Linked DNA regions of Homo sapiens: region 2 is linked to region 1. The links are contacts of gene promoters, found by promoter capture Hi-C in blood cells and fetal thymus (Javierre and others, 2016). All regions are on one chromosome and are shown on one strand. Each heading gives the region's core, a stretch centred on a gene start or on the middle of the fragment in contact. The rest is flanking DNA. Distances are from core to core; before and after follow the strand shown. Region 1 holds the start of PSMB2 (proteasome 20S subunit beta 2). Region 2 holds the start of TMEM35B (transmembrane protein 35B).

Region 1 (5,498 bases), core at 1,767-4,266:
TGTGTGAAATGTTAATAATATGACTTACCCCTGTCTAACTCACAAGTGAGAAAAACTAATGAATTCTATACATGTCCAATATTATGATACTCAGTGTTAGATAATGTAGTTCGGATTATACATGCTATAGGAATTCAGAAAAGAGAGAATTCTGTGTGGGCTGGAGTACTCCGAGTAACTTAAAAGCAATTCTACATAGGCCAAGAGAAAAGAGACATGAAATGCGGCATATAAGCAAACCAAAAGTTATACCACTTAATAAGGTGGCAATCCTCAGCAAATGTCTACTCTATAGTATCAAAATGTTTTTACAAAGTGACATACTGGACAATTGATTGGAAGTTGTATTATCATTTTATACTTGGAGAAAGGAGTCCCAGAAGGTTACTATTTTTTCAGCATTCTTGCCTACTCTAAACAAGCTCCATCGTGAAATGAATGATTAGAAAAAAGTCATCAGACGGCTGGGCACGGTGGCTCACGCCTGTAATCCCAGCACTTTGGGAGGCGGAGGCAGGTGGATCACCTGAGGTCAGGAGTTTGAGACCAGCCTGGCCAAACTGGTGAAACCCCGTTTCTACTAAAAATACAAAAATTAGCTGGGCATGGTGACGGGCGCCTGTAATCCCAGCTACTTGGAAGGCCGAGGCAGGAGAATCGCTTGAACCCAGGAGGTGGAGGTTGCAGTGAGCCGAGATCGCGCCATTGCACTCCAGCCTGGGTGACAGAGCGAGACTCTGTCTCAAAAATAAATAAATAAAATAAATAAAAAAGTCATCATACAATACTAAAATTTCTATTATAATTTGTTTTATACCAGAAAAGACTATAGGGAAAATTGGAATGTGCAGAGTGCAACTATTTCCAATTATTTTTCAAGAACTAACTCAAATTCATCTTTCTCCCATACCATAGTTATCTTTCTTTTATTACTCTTAGGATTTGCTCTTGAACTCATTAATTTAAAAACCAACCTACTACTAACTAGTAATACTTCTTTTATTATATAAAATCATCTTGCAGCATTTATTTCCTTGTTTTCTTAATGTCTTGGACTCTTCTATGGGTTATAAGTAATATACTGCATCCCCTATAATGACTAAAAGTACTGTGTACATAAGTAGGCTTAAAGCACATTCTACTTTTCAATGTGATTTCACATACATTTGGGATGAAACAAAAGACCTGTAAAGATAATGATTATTGTTCTACCTAGACATGACTTAATGTTAAAATCACTTGCTTGTCAAAGACCTTAGTATTCAAAATAATGGACAAATTTACTCTCAAAACAAATTCACTCCTTTGGAAGGACTGGCTTACAAACAAAACTTCTACAAACTAATCATAGAATTTCATAAAGTATAAGGTGCTATGTTAAGTGATTTACATTAATTCATTAACCTTTTGAGATAGGTGCTATTACATTACCACCTTATAGATGTTAGCTCTAGGGCACGGAGTTAGAGAAATTTGCTTAAGGTCACAAGTGGCAGAACCTGGGTTCAACCTATGCAGTGAGTCCAGACATTTTGCCCCTAAGTACTATAATATACTATACTATACTATACTATACTATACTATACTATACTATCTATACTAAATTACTCAATACATAATTTTAAGAAGATTTTGGTTGTTTTTCTGCAGAATCTAAGTTTGTTTTCCTTAACTGATCAAAGACGTGCTACTGTTGAAAAAGTATTAAGCTTTGGTTCAGATGACTTAATGGTCATTTGACAAATATGTTTGGGCACCTACGTACACTTAGTATTATTAAGTACCTGCCTAGTGCTAAGGATTTGCACATAACTCATTTACTAAATCCTCCCGACAAGTTTGTGAGTTTGGTATTGCTAATCTTAAAGATGAGGAAATCTGGGCACTGCAAAATAACTTATACAAACTCATAAGGCAAATAAATGACAGGGCTCCAATCTCTTAACTCCATTAACTACTTAAATATAAGGAAAACCTGGCAGCCATTGCTCTGGAAAACTGGAAAAGAAGAATCGGGAGCCACGGGAAGAAGGAAAATGCCAAGCTTCTGGTCCCACAGTCTCACTCTCCCCAGGATCCCACCTTATGCCGCCAACAAACTAACCTCATTACTAGCGACACCAGGAAACTTATCAGAGATTCGGGGATCTAGAGAGCCAGTCCCACAGTCTCACTCTCCTCAGGATCCCACCTTATGCCGCCAACAAACTAACCTCATTACTAGCGACACCAGGAAACTTATCAGAGATTCGGGGATCTAGAGAGCCAGGCTCTGGGCAGGCGCTTAAACATTTATAAACTGATTCCCTTTAGGCAACTCTCACCAAGCAAGAAGCATTTAGCGAAGGCCAGAGCAGAGCACTGACCCAGGAGCCCTGGAGGAGCAAATGCCAAGGTCCCAGACCTGTCTGCCTGTTTCGCCTGTAATCCCAGCACTTTGGAAGGCCGAGACGGGCGGATCTCCTGAGGTCGGGAGTTCGAGACCAGCCTGACCAATATGGAGAAATCCACATCTCTACTAATAATACAAAAATTAGCCAGGCGTGGTGGCGCATATCTGTTCCCAGCTACTCGGGAGGCTGAGGCACGAGAATCGCTTGAACCCGGGAGACAAAGACTGTGCTAAGCCGAGATCGCGCCATTGCACTCCGGCCTGGACAACAAGAGCGAAACCCCTCTCGAAAAAATAAATAAATAAATAAAATAAGTACGGGCAGGGCAGGCCGGCTTCCATCTCTCAGATCCTCCCTGGTACTTATTCAACCCCCGACAAACTCCTTCTGGCCGCTCCTACACCCCAGGCCTGGCCGGGCCTCCCCTGCTTCCTCTCACCGTCCTTCATCTGGACAATATTGCTGGCGGCCACCCGGTCGGAGGCGACAAGAACATAGTCGGGGCCTTGGATACCGATGAGGTACTCCATGGTGGCGGAAGGCCAGGGGCTGCAGGTCCGACACAGCACGAGACTCGCCCGCTTCCAGGTCTCACCGGTGAGACAGCACCTCAGAGCGAAGATTGGCGCGACGCCTGCAGCACGACTTCCACGGCGCTCTCGGATGACGTACAACTGTCGCGAGAGGTTGCAAAGCGGGCGCGGCGCCGGGTGCCTTATGTTCAGTGCTTGTCTCTGGGATCGTACGGGTCTCCTCCGGAGCAGGCTGTGCAGGTCACTTGCCTTATGTGACGCCCAGTTTCTCTGTTTACACACTAAGATTTTAAAAGTGGCTTTAGGATAAAATCACGCAGTGTATGTAAGGTGCCGAGCACGTGTGGGTGTCAAAAAGGGGTAGGTAGCCAGGCAGCCGTTTCCCTACGTTGCTCGGTAAAATCTCCCCAGAAACCCCTTTCCTGCAAGCCAGATTGGAGAAAAATTAACTTGAGGGGAGCCTTACTTCCATCCTTCACAAAAATAGTATATGGTTGGATTAAAGATATAAGCATGGCCGGGCGCAGTGGCTCACGCCTGTAATCCCAGCACTTTGGGAGGCCAAGGCAGGCGGATCACCTGAGCTTGGGAGTTCGAGACCAGCCTGACCAATATGGAGAAACCCCGTCTCTACTAAAAATACAAAATTAGCTGGGCGTGGTGGCGCATGCCTGTAATCCCAGCTACTCTGGAGGCTGAGACAGAGAATCGCTTGATCCCTGGAGGCGGAGGTTGCGGTGAGCACTCCAGCCTGGGCAACAAAAGCGAAACTCCGTCTCAAAAAAAAAAAAAAAAAAAAAAAAAAAAAAAAAAAAAAAAAAAAGAGAGGGAGAGAGATACAAACATGGAAGAAAAAGTAGAAAAATATTTCTGTAATTTTTGGAAGAGATGTGTTTCTAAGCTTGACAGGGAACCCAGAAGCAATATGAGAAAAGACTTGACAGATTTGACTACCTAAAATTACACGTCTCTATGTGGTGAAAGTCATTATCATGCTCAACAGTAAATGTAAATTGGGAATGTTTCAATTGTAGAAATAGTTACTATTTTGGACCTTATAGACAGAAGAAAGGAAAAAGTTAATATCTATAACTTAAAAGATATTCCTACAAACCAATGGGAGGGGAGCCGGGTGAGACAATACCATTTTTAAAAGACCCGGCAGGGCACGGGGGCGGATCAAGAGGTCGGGAGTTCGAGAACAGCCTGGCCAATATGGTGAAACCCCGTCCCTACTAAAAATACAAAAAATTAGTTGGGCGTGGTGGCAGGCGCCTGTACTACTCCGGAGGCTGAAGCAGGAGAATTGCTTGAACCTAGGAGGCGGAGATTGCAGTGAGCCGAGATAGCGCCCCTCCACTCCAGCCTGTGCAACAGAGAGACTCCATCTCAAAAAAAAAAATAAAAAATAAAAAAAGACCAAAGACTAAGAAAAACAATTCACAAAAGAAGCAACACGAATGGCCAATAAACATGAAAAGATCCTCAACCTTGATGGTAATTAGGAAAATGGGAAATAAGAAACAATGAGAAAGTATAAATTGGGGGTAAGGTTCTAAGTTGTACAACCTTTTTATAGAGAACAATTTTAATATCTGTTAAATATGCATAACCTTTTGAATATGTCCAAAAGAAATGTTTGGACACACAGTCCAAATATTTGTGTACCGAGATACTCAGTGTTGCCAGGGGCAGTGGCTCACGCCAGTAATCCTAGCACTTTGGGAGGCCAAGACGAGCGGATCACGAGTTCAGGAGTTCGAGACCAGCCTGGCCAACATGATGAAACCCCGTCTCTACTAAAAATACCAAAATTAGCTGGGCGTGGTGGTGCGGCACCTGTAATCCCAGCTACTGGGGAGGCCAAGGCAAGAGAATCGCTTGAACCCGGGAGGCAGAGGTTGCAGTGAGCCAAGATCACACCATTACACTCCAGCCTGGGCAACAGAGCAAGACTCTCTCTCAAAAAAAAAAAAAAAAGAGAGAGAGATATTTAGTGTTGCAGCACTACAACACAAAAGAGGACCAACTTACGTGTCTAAAAGTGGAGACATTGTTGGGCCGGGTGTGGTGGCTCATGCCTGTAATCCCATCACTTTGGAAGGCCAAGGTAGGTGGATCACGTGAGGTGAGGAGTTCGAGACCAGCCTGACCAACATGGTGAAACCCGGTCTCTACTAAATACAAAAAATTAGCCGGGCGAGGTGGCAGGCGCCTGTAATCCCAGCCACTTCAAGAGGTTGAGGCAGGAGAATCGCTTGAACCTGGGAGACAGAGGTTACAGTGAGCTGAGATCGTGCCACTGCACTCCAGCCTGGGCAACAAGGGCAAAACTCTGTCTCAAAAAAAAAAAAAATGTAGTACAGTCATAGTGGAATATTGTGCACCCATAAAAAGAATGAGATGAATCTAAATATACCTATATATTCCATGGCCCAAGATACATTAAGTGAAAGTAAAAATGCTTTTTTATATGTAGCCTGATGCCATTTTGTTTAACTATGAATATTTGAATATGAATGGAATACCTGTAAATACCTGTTTACAGGTATTCTAGTGTCAAATTATTTGC
Region 2 (5,496 bases), core at 1,509-4,008, 660 kb before region 1:
GCCTCAGCCTCCTGAGTAGCTGGGATTACAGGCGCGCACCACCACGCCCGGCTAATGTTTGTATTTTTAGTAGAGACGGGGTTTCATCATGTTGGTCAGGCTGGTCTTGAACTCCTGACCTTGTGATCCGCCCGCCTCGGCCTCCCAAAGTGCTGGGATTACAGGCATGAGCCACCGTGTCTGGCCCCTTCTCCTTTCTTAATCCTACATCTACTAAGATTAAGATGGAGGGAAGGACTAGCCCAGGGGCTGTTGGTTGGAGGTATGGGAAAGATCTGAAAATGGGAGAAGCTCCAGAGATGGAAGCAAGCCTGGTAGCAGTGGCAGCAATGGTAACAGATGCCAGGGCATATAGAAGAGCCTGAAGATATCTGGCCTTTGAAGCAACAGCTGTCTTTGTACATCAGCAGTTCCTGTGGGCAGAGCTACTTGAGGGGGACTCCCTAGGGAAATTCTCTGCCTTCCTGTTCAAGGTTCTCCAGCTTCCCTGCTCTCTACACCAATCTGCCAGACACATGCATCAAATGGCAGCTGCTCCTCCATCCCCTCATCCTAGGAGTGGATGTGTGGAGGAAGGAGCAGAGGCGCTGAGCTTGCAATATATCTTCACAAGGCAATACTATGCAGCCATTAGAATTGAGGAGGTAGAAGGTACACTTAACATGTGATAATGTTCTAGCACATTAAGTTTAAAAAGTACCTGTGCTAGGCCGGGCATAGTGGCTCAAGCCTGTAATCCTAGCACTTTGGGAGGCCAAGGCGGGCAGATCACGAGTTCAGGAGATCGAGACCATCCTGGCTAACATGGTGAAACCCTGTCTCTACTAAAAATACAAAAAAATCAGTCGGGCGCTGTGGCAGGCGCCTGTAGTCCCAGCTACTCGGGAGGCTGAGGCAGGAGAATGGTGTGAACCCAGGAGGCGGAGGTTGCAGTGAGCAGAGATAGTGCCACTGCAGTCCAGCCTGGGCGAAAGAGCGAGACTCCATCTCAAAAAAAAAAAAAAAAAAAAAAAAAAATACCTGTGCTAGTTTGAAGACCATGGAAACTGTGGTAGAGCAGAAAGTGCTCTTGATCCCAGAGAAAAAAGAAGGGTGGCAACAGTAAGGGGGAACAGCCAGGTCTTTCCATAATCCTCCCCCAGAAGACCCCATTTTCTCAGGCCAGTTGGCCCCCTTACCCATCATGAGCAGAATCAAGAACAAGTTACTGATCTCTTGCAGCATCGGTGGGCCCATGACCAGCAGCAACCCAGCCAGCAGTTCCAGAAAGCCCACAGCTATTTGGTAGTTCAGGGGATCTGGCTGGTAGCCAAATACCTTCAGCGGGAACACCTCAGCAAACTGCACGAACAGGGCATTCTAGGGGTGGCAAGGAATGCCTGTTAGCCTCATTGTTCAACAAGGATGAGCTCCCCAGATGCTCCATGGCATATCTATGCCTGTGCCCTCAACTTCCCAGAGAAAAGAACTACTACTCTAGGTCAGGTCCAGGGCTGAGGTCAGCCTGAAGAGGAGAGGGCTGCCCTGTGGCGCTGAGCTTTGGAATCAGGAAACAGGCTCCATGCTCCAAGTGGTACAGAGATTGATCTTCTCACTAGACCTCTCAAGAGATTACAACCCAGCCCCAAATCCCAGGAGGAGGGGGCTGGGCTTGGCTCCCTAGTGCCAAGGCCTGGGGAATTCCACAGTTTCCTTCTTTGTGTCTGGCCTGGTTTCTCTTAAGGCTGCTGTACAGGGAATATTTGGAGGTGAGGCAGAGTTAGGTGGGCTCAAAGTGACTCTTCTTGTCAAGGCAGGCCCTCCCCTGAGCCAAATGACAACTTCATCCTTACTTTCGGGGATACTTTTTCCTGTTCCCACTCCTCAGCTCTACCTCCCCTCCTCAGCTCTGCTGGGAAGCAGCTCTAAGCTGTCTGTCTCTGGGGATTTATCCAGGCCTTGGAGAGAGATGCCAGCAGAGGTCTACAAGTCTGGCTCTTTTGAGGGACTGGGGAGATTGGTGAACAGGATATGAAAGCTTTCCCATGAGTCTGGAACTAGACAGAAGGCTGAAAGACGACTTCAGGGCATCCCTCTCAGGCTTCCGAGAGAGGCTTCCCTCTCTGGGTTCCGAGTTAGGAGTGTCTAGCTTGTGTCCTGCTTCCTGACTAGATGTGCAATCTTTAGCAGATATACTTGCCCTTCAGGGCGGGCTTCCTTCCCTGCAAAGCCAGGATTACTACACCCCAACCCCACGAACCTCCCAAAAACTGAAGCAAACGGCGAAAAGAGGGAAGAGAGCGGGAAGTGAGCTCATTTTCCCACCGCATCATCCTCCCCCAGGGTCCGGGGGGGTGGGAGGGACCTCCTAAGGCTCTAGATTTGCCTGGGGCCACCAATATTCTGCAGGAAGGGGAGGTTCTGTCCCCTTCCGTCTAGGGAAGATCCAGAGAACTCGAGGAACTCCCCAGGCAGGACCTGCGCCTCAGTCGAAAGCCAGGCGCTTTCCCCCAGCTCCAGCTGAGCCTCGGAAGCCCGAAGGCGGCCTGCCGGGCCGGGGGCGAGGAGCGGCAGGGCGGAGCACACGCCGCCGCGGGCCCGATCCCCTGCCGCCCGCCCGCGCCGCTCACCATCCGCTCCGAAACTGGAGCCGAGATCTCCTCCGAGAGCTTGGCCAACCCCACGAGCGCGAAGAAGCCGCCCAGCAGTACACGCAGCACCGAAAGCAGGAGCGCCATGGCCGCGCTCCCCCCACCGTGGGTTGGCCCCGCCGAAAACCCGCCCCTGCCGCCGGCTCATTTCCTCCCTCCCCGGGGCAGCCGGAAGACTCTCGCCTGAGCTACCGTCCCCCACCCTCCAGGGGGTCGCGAGGCTGCAGTACTGGGGCAGGGCGCCCCCATCTTACAGGTGGGGACACTTGAGGACCACTGGCTGGTAACTGACTAAACAGGCACCTTTGGATTCAGGGAGTGTTTCCCAGCCAATACGGAGTGCTGGCAGACACGGGTGGGTGTCTGGGTGCGGTTCAGCTACCATCAAAAGACCCCGGGCTTCGTTCCTGCCTGTGCCACACTAGCTGTGGGATCTGAGCTGTCACCCACCCCAAAGGGCCTCAGTATCTGCATCTGTATATGGGGATAACTCAGTTCTCCAGAGTTTGTAACAGGCCTAGCACAGTGCCTGCACATGTAAGAGCTCAGAAAGTTATTTGTAAATTAGTAAATTAATTTATAAAATTGTAATAAATCAATAACCATTAATTATTAAATAAGTCTCTTTGCCTGAGATATCTTTTCCCTCTAATTTATCTCGGCTGACAATGAAATGTGAAAGGTGTTTGAAAATTCAGATACTTGCATGGATAGAGAGGCTTTCACTGAACCAAGCCCTACAGTCCACTCCTGGCCCATTTGCTCTTACCTGGAAATCTGTCTAAAGCTGGGATGGGCAAACCATGGGCCAAATTTGGCCAGATGTCTGATTTTTTTCCATGCTTCTCCCCTTCCCCCAAGCTAATAATGTTTGTTTACATTTTTTATGATAAAAACATTTTTTAAAGAAGCTTGTGTGACATAGGAAAATTATATGAAATTCATATTTCAGTGTTCATGAATAAGTTTTATTTAAAAACAGCCACACTTATCTGCATATTGTCTATGGCTGCTTTTGCACTGCAACTGCAGAATTGAGTAGTTGTGACAGTATGGCCTGCAAAGCTGAAAATATTTACTATCTGGCTCTTTATTTAAAAAGTTTGCTAAGCCCTGGTATATTGGGCCAGAAAGGCCCCAAGCAGGGGTCTCAAATCCCCCTGCTGCTTCCATTTATAGTTACCCAAGCTGCTTAGATCTATCTTTTTCCAGCTGGGCACGTTGGCTCACACTTGTAATCCCAGCACTTTGGGAGGCCGAGGCAGGTGGATCACTTGAGGTCAGGAGATAGAGACCAGCCTGACCAATATGGTGAAACCCCGTCTCTACTAAAAAAAATACAATAGACGGGCATGGTGGCACATGCCTGTAACCCCAGCTACTTGGAAGGCTGAGGCAGGAGAATTGTTTGAACCTAGGAGGCAGAGGTTCCAGTGAGCCAAGATCACGCCATTGCACTCCAGCCTGGGCAACAAGAGCAAAACTCCATCTCAAAAAAAAGATCTATCTTTTCCACCTACTCACAACCTTGCAGGGGTAAGTAGCTGGTTGGCTAGAAGACTGAAATGTTCCACTTGCTTCTAAAGGCCAAGCTGTTTCAACATCCAGGTTGTGCTGTTACATTATAAACTGGGCTTCTCATTACCTGCAGTCTTTGTCACTAGTCCAAATTTAATGAAATAACTAAATTTTCTACCCTAGATTATAATTATACATAATTATTTATAACAATCATAATTATTAAATTCCTCAACAAAAAGGGAAAAATTATTAAAACATTTAATCACTGAAAACACAAATCCACATTAGGAAATTATCTTTTAGGATACTTATACAAAACTTAACACAGGATTATTGACTTCACTGTTAAGCAATGTGCATATTGCTACTCTTTCTCCTTCACTAATTTTTCTATCCTTGGAATTAAAGATGTGACTGCAAGTCTTAGGGCAGGGCCAGAACCCAACAGATTTTTTTGTTTTGACTCAGTCAAAGCTGAAAAGGCAGCATCACATAAATAAACAGTTGAAAAGGGTAATAAAAATTTCATTGCCCTTTCATGGAGTTCTGGGTAACTTGTCTTTGCATTTATCCAAAACTGAGTTACAGACACTGATTTAAATAGTGCTTGTAATCCTAAATCTGAAGATAGCTCTGTTAGCTTTTCTTCTTCGAAGTCGGTGAGATTATTATTTTGGTGATTCATAAAAGGGTGAATTATCCACAAATTTCCTGAACGCAAGTCTTGTTCTGGTGGAAAACAGTCACTGAACACTTGAGAAAGTCCTTCCAGGTGCTCAAAAATAATCCTTGTGATGTCTGTCATATTTAAGCCTGATGAATTTGAGAATTCAGAAAATGAAGGGAACATGTCATAATCATTCTCTTGTGTGCGCTTCAACCACATTTTTAACTTTCTCTTAAATACATCAATTTTATTACACAAATTGAAGAAAGTAGTCAAAGTTCCTTGGAGACTTAAATTTAATTCATTTATAAGTGAAAATATATCTGATAAGTAGGCCAGCTTTCCAACCCATTCCTCATCATGAAAATACTTGGCCAAATCTGAATGCTTTTGACTTAAAAATATTTCAATCTCATGTCGTAATTCAAATAATCTTTTTAACATTCTCCCTCTTGATATCCAACGTACTTCAGCATGAAGCGGTAAACTCACATGCTCAGATCCCATCTCTTCACACAAAATTGTTAACATACGTGAATTTAATGCATTGCTCTTTATAAAACTTAAAATTTGTGCTGACTGCAAAAGAATTTTATGTAAACATGGAGACAACTTTTCTGCCACTAAACGTTCACGGTGAATAAAACAATGTGTAAATGCCGCTGTATTCATGGCAAC

The links. The method cuts DNA at HindIII sites, captures the fragments that hold promoters and counts their contacts. A CHiCAGO score of 5 or more calls a contact.
Region 2: a contact is called between the fragment with the promoter of TMEM35B here and the fragment with the promoter of PSMB2 in region 1, in 3 of 17 cell types (naive CD4 T cells, fetal thymus and M2 macrophages). The highest score is 6.5, in naive CD4 T cells.

What each region holds. Positions count from the first base shown.
Region 1 is chr1:35,638,510-35,644,007 of GRCh38, forward strand. It overlaps PSMB2 (proteasome 20S subunit beta 2), which reads right to left and starts at 3,017. Exons shown (of 6, transcript NM_002794.5): 1 at 2,833-3,017. The coding sequence starts at 2,923. RefSeq lists enhancers at 1,992-2,957, 2,746-3,205, 2,958-3,922. The HindIII fragment of the contact is 1,783 bases long and covers 2,043-3,825 here.
Region 2 is chr1:34,982,589-34,988,084 of GRCh38, forward strand. TMEM35B (transmembrane protein 35B) reads right to left here and starts at 2,759. Exons shown (of 3, transcript NM_001195156.2): 1 at 2,610-2,759; 2 at 1,179-1,359. The coding sequence starts at 2,717. ZMYM6 (zinc finger MYM-type containing 6) reads right to left here. Exons shown (of 16, transcript NM_007167.4): 16 at 3,577-5,496. The coding sequence ends at 4,516. RefSeq lists silencers at 2,318-2,387, 2,448-2,737. The HindIII fragment of the contact is 1,524 bases long and covers 2,016-3,539 here.